2 separate regions of the Homo sapiens genome follow, and region 1 is linked to region 2. Evidence: promoter capture Hi-C in 16 types of primary human blood cells and fetal thymus (Javierre and others, 2016). All regions are on one chromosome and are shown on one strand. Each heading gives the region's core, a stretch centred on a gene start or on the middle of the fragment in contact. The rest is flanking DNA. Distances are from core to core; before and after follow the strand shown. Region 1 overlaps ZFAT (zinc finger and AT-hook domain containing). Region 2 holds the start of DNAAF11 (dynein axonemal assembly factor 11).

What was found. The method cuts DNA at HindIII sites, captures the fragments that hold promoters and counts their contacts. A CHiCAGO score of 5 or more calls a contact.
Region 1: a fragment that was not itself captured here is called in contact with the fragment with the promoter of DNAAF11 in region 2 in 1 of 17 cell types (naive CD8 T cells); the score reaches 5.5 in naive CD8 T cells.

The regions. Positions count from the first base shown.
Region 1 is chr8:134,707,976-134,710,675 of GRCh38, reverse strand. All of the region lies in intron 1 of ZFAT (zinc finger and AT-hook domain containing), which reads left to right. Among named protein-coding and RNA genes, the nearest start is that of ZFAT, 3.7 kb to the left of the region's middle. RefSeq lists an enhancer at 565-1,248. The HindIII fragment of the contact is 6,003 bases long and covers 1-2,700 here.
Region 2 is chr8:132,674,171-132,676,870 of GRCh38, reverse strand. DNAAF11 (dynein axonemal assembly factor 11) reads left to right here and starts at 1,326. Exons shown (of 12, transcript NM_012472.6): 1 at 1,326-1,387. The coding sequence starts at 1,378. LOC105375767 (a long non-coding RNA gene) reads right to left here and starts at 1,241. Exons shown (of 2, transcript XR_928665.4): 1 at 1,066-1,241; 2 at 813-979. The HindIII fragment of the contact is 7,589 bases long and covers 860-2,700 here.

The DNA.
Region 1 (2,700 bases), core at 115-2,614, 2.0 Mb before region 2:
GACTTGGGTCCCATCCTCAGGTTATCTCACTATGTATATGCAAATATTCCAAAATCCAAAAACATCTGGAATTCTAAAACTTCTGGTCCCAAGCATTTTGGATATGGGATCCTGAAACTGTAGTTTATTTGGGAATAATAGGGGATTGCAATTTAGATACATGCGCTATGCTGGATCATAGGTACGTCCAAAGAAGTTGGGGCAAATGGAAACTTTTAAAGACCCAAAAGGGAAGTCCACCTAAGCGGTTTTGAAACAAAGACCATTGGTTTCAGAGGTTTATTGCAGGAGCTGGCATTAGTCCATTGGAGACAGGTGCACCAGGCAAGTGTCCTGTGCAAGTAACAGGCTCTAAGGAATTCCTGGCATAGTTCCTGTCATAGGCATACTTGCATGAGGGCCCTTCCTTCCTATCCTCTGGCTCCATTTTGTTAGAGTTTGACATGAGTGACTCCATTTTGATAAACGTGAAATATCTTTTCGATTGGTGCCTTCCTCCTCCCACGTTGTTGCTTATATAGAGAGAATGAGTTGCCCACTTCTCCACTTCTGGAATTTACCCAAGAGTTTTAAAAAAGAACCCTGGACATATGTTGAAGTTTCCTTCAATTTCCAGCTGTACCAAATGAGAAAAGATCATATTTTAAAATGTGTTACTGTCAACTCATGGTCAGCTAATTTCTGAAAAGAGTTTCCTGTTTTGGTTAATTTAGGAAAGGGAGTACAATGAATGATAAGGAGGTGGAGTTGCATGTGGTCTACAGGGCACAGCTGTAGGTGGCAAATGAGCTGAGATGGTCATTGTGTGAATTGGAGCCGTCTTACCGCAGTGCTCCCTTCTCAGTGGGCTTCTCATTTGCCTCCGGTGAAAGGATTCCTGTTTCTTTTCTCCCCATACCTTGCAATTTACATAACTTTTGCAAGATAGCTATTGTTAAGTAGAATTAAGCTCTTGCCTAGAGCAAGGGCAGTCAAGAATCAGATATATTAAAAAGTCTCCTTAATTGCATTTCCCTTTGTAGATAGTTTCAAGCATACAGCCTCTGAAAAACTCTGCACCAAGATGGGCTGATTTAATTACGTAAAAGAGATTTAGCCTAGAGTTAAGTTTTCCCTCTCTTCTCAGCTGTTTACCCTGTTAAAGTTTCACTGATTTGCAATTTCTCAAGGGCAGGCATCAACTTTAAGGGCTGGAACATTTAGGAGGGTAGAAAGAGCACGTGCTCTGGCTCCAGAGATCTGCCTCTCACCAGATTCCTGACCTAAGGGAAGTCACAGAACCCTTGGGACCCCAGTCCCTTCACCGGCAAAGGAGACACAGTCCTGCCACAGGTGGCTGCTGATGGCATTCAGGAAATGGGGTTTGTCTCTTCCCTTCCCAGAACCAGACTTCCCAGTGTACAGCTCAGTACATTGTCATCCACTCTCTTCTTGAAAGCATTTGTGGATGGAAAGGCAGAGACTCCCAGGCTCAGGCCACCCTCCCACATCAGCCTCCTGAATAGCTGGGACTACAGGGGTGCACCACCACACCTGGCTAATTTTTGTATTTTTTGTAGAGATGGGGTGTCACCAGGTTGACCAGGCTGGTATTGAACTCAGCCTAAGAGATCCACTGGCCTCGGCCTCCTGAAATGCTAGGATTATAGGCTTGAGTCACTGTGCCCAGCCGAGTAATTTTTTTTAAATAAGTCATTTTTAAAAATTAAATTAAATTAATTTATTGGCACGGAGTTTTGCTCTTTGCCCAGTCTGGAGCACAATGGTGTGATCTTGGCTCACTGCAACCTCTGCCTTCTGGGCTCAAGCGATTCTCCTGCCTCAGCCTCCCAAGTAGCTGGGATTATAAGCATGCGCCACCACGCCTCGCTAATTTTGTACTTTTAGTAGAGGTGGGGTTTCACCATGTTGGTCAGGCTGGTTTCCAACTCCTGACCTCAGGTGATCCGCCTGCCTCAGCCTCCCAAAGTGCCAGTATTACAGACGTGAGCCGCTGTGCCTGGCCGAGTAATTTTTTTTTAAAAGAGAAAAGAAAAAGCAGAGCAAAACAAAATAGACATTTTAAACATCTTACAGATTTAAAGTTGCCTCCTTTTTTTTCAAGGAACACAAAATATATAGATGATTGAGTTTACTTATAAAGATAATGCTTGGCATATTTATAGAAAAACACGGACTTAAAATTGGGTAACATAATCTTTTTTTAAATTAAAAAAACTGTAACGACATATTTGTTTCTTTACGGGGTATAATGTGATGTTATGATTTATGAGTATAATGTGGAATAATTAAATCAAGCTAATTAACATATCCATCAGCTCAAATAGTTATCATTTTGTGGTAAGTAAACATTTAAAATTTACTCTTAGCAAATTTGAAATGTACGTTATTACTGTATTCACCATGCTGTGCAATATGTCTCAAAGAAAAAAACGATTCCTCTTGTCTAATTGAGGCTTTGTAGCCTTTGATCATCATTTCTTCCTACACCTTCAGGCTCTGGTACCCACCATTCTACTCTCTGCTTCTTTGAGCTCCATTGTTTTAGAGTTCACATGTAAGAGAAAACATGCAGTGTTTGTCCTTCTGTGCTGGCATATTTTACTTAGGACAGTGTTCTCCAGTTTCATCCATGTTGTCACAAACGACAACATTTCTTTTTTACAGCTGAATAATATTCCGTTGTGTATATGTCCCACA
Region 2 (2,700 bases), core at 77-2,576:
CAAATATTCAGGGAAATAGTGCCTGAAATCCCACTCTTCCAGTTCAGTTCCTTTGGCCTGGCATTTAAGGCCCCCATTACCCCCGATCTAATCTCTCATTCTTACTGTTCGAAGATCCCTTCTATCTAGCTCTCTTTATTGCCAAACTGATGTTTCTGCTTCCCCCCATCACCTCACTCTGTTAGACTTTCCTGCCTCTCTGTCCAAGTTCATGACCTTGTCTCTACCTGGCAAACTCTAATAATTGCCAGCTGTAAATGCTTAACAGCTATTCGCTAGAAAAATTAATTTCTTTGCACTCAGCATTGCTCTAGGAATCTTCTTTTAAAATGCAAACATAATACACACATCAAGATAAGAAGCACGCACTCCATACTGTTTAAAACGACTGGGATGGGAGAAGGTTTTACCTTTTACATATTGCCCCCCTCCTTTTTCTGCAAATGGAGTAAAGAATAATAATTACTTTCATAATAATGGTACCTTTTAAAGATTCTTGGGAAGCTAACGCATTAAAGTGCTAACACTAAGATCTGAGGGTGAATGAGCTTGCTGATGTGCTTCCTAGTTTAGAATGGGAGAAGGCGCGTTGCACACTTTTGGAGAAGGGTCTGGGGAAACGTGAGGGGAGTGTGGGGCTGTAGGAGATATACTTCCTACATTTTACAATTAAGAGAGTGGAGAATAGGGAAATTGATGGAGGGGGTAATGGGTGGCGTTTCTGGAAAGCTTGTTAGCCGGAAACGAGTGTTGGAGAGTGACTTTAAAAAGCTGGAATATGACAACGACAACGAATCTTTATAGTGAGCCTGTTGTTTTCATAGTGTCTTTCATTCACTCAAATTATCTAATTAAAGCTTCACAGTGATCCTCTTAGGTTATTTCTCATCTTACAGATGTGCAAACTGAGGAGAAGGAAGTGTAAGGTCACGCCGCTGGTAGAGTTGGGGGCCAAATCCAGATCTGTTGGCTCTGGAAGCTGTAAATCAAACACAAAAAGGAAAAAGTCAAAGGCGGTCTGGAAGGCAAGCCTGGAAGGCACAGAAAAGAGAAGCGTCCTCATACTTTGTTCACTCTAAACCATTGATTCAGGGAGAGGGAAGCAGTCTGTGGCAAGTCGGAAGTGCGACGAGGACGAAGACTGGGTTTGGGTTGGGGAACCCCTGTCTGCTGAGCCCCTTCACTGCGGTCTCCTCTGCTTGCTCCGCGGAGCTCAGGAAACGCGGCTTGTTTTGGTCCCGCGCGGCCGCCGTAGAGTCCCCGTTGCCATGGCTCCTGAATTCCGACGGGGACGCGCTGAGGAGCAGGGGTGAAGGGTGAAAAGCGTCATTCGAGGTCCGGGTCCGGCTTGCGGGGTCAGCGAACTGGAGAGGCGCCATGGGCTGGAGTAAGCCCCCCTCCACCTTCCGTCCTCGATCGTTCCCCTTGTGGAAGTAGTCCCGGGTCTCGTGGGATCCTCGCCGCCCGCTCCCGCCCTGCGCTGTCGGTTCCCCCGCGCCTGGGCGGACCCTAACCCCACCCGGCCCTCCGCACCGCAGCCCCGGCTGCACCAGGTCCTCTGCAGACTGGCCGGACAGCCTGGCCTTTTCCAGCTCAGGTTCCTAATCTGTAAAATGGGCGGGGCCGTGGGAAGGGGAGGAAGAGGCAGAAAGGCACTGGACTCCAGGAAAGGGGTCGGGGAACGTGCAGGGGTTTTGGCGCCAGACACACCACGTTCCGGCCAAGTGGCTCCTTACTGGCTGTGAACGTGGGCCAGTCACTGTCTCCAAGCCGCAATCTTCGGACTCATTCCGGAAGGCAGTGTAGCCTAATGGTGGAGGGTTCCGACTCTGGAGCCAGGGTTGAAGTCCTCCCTCTTCCTGTGACTTTGAGCGAGTGACTTCACCCCTTGGGCCTCAGCTTCTTCATCTCCAAAATAATGGCAATCATACTACTGTTTTAGACACAGTAAGTGTTATAAACGTGTTTTTGTTTGTTTGTTTGAGACAAGAGTTTTGCTCTGTCGCCCAGGCTGGAGTGCAGCGGCGCGATCTCGGCCCACTGCAGCCTCCGCCTCCCGGGTTCAAGCAATTCTCCTGCCTCAGCCACCTGAGTAGCTGGGATTACAGCGTGCACCACCACGCCAGGCTAATTTTTGTATTCTTAGTAGAGACGGGGTTTTGCCATGTTGGCCAGGCTGGTCTCGAACTCCTGACCTCAGGTGATCCGCCCGCCTCGGCCTCTCAAAGTGCTGCGATTACAGGCGTGAGCCACTGCGCCCGGTAGTAAACGTGTTTCTTTAAGAATATACTAACAAACTGCAAGGTGATGCGGGTAAGTTATTTATATTGTATGAACCATTTTGATATCGACAACGTTTTTGAGCTCCCCATATGGCAGTTTTGTACAGCTCTACCTAATTGATCACTTATCATTGTAAAAATGTCATAATTAACTTTTTTTAAATCAAGAGACTGCTCCAGATGATGGGCTTTCTGCCCTGGAAGACCTGACAGCCTGCAAGTGGGAGAGGTGGGGGTCGGGGGGGAGTGATTTGTAAATGTTGAAACTCCTTTCCTAAATCAGCTACTGATATTTCTTCCTCTCTTCTCAGGGCTGTCTCCCCATCCCCTGGTCTCACCCTAGTTGGTTTTTTTCTTCTTCTCCTTCTCCTCCTCCTCCTTCTCCTCCTCCTTCTCCTCCTCCTCCTTCTCCTCCTCC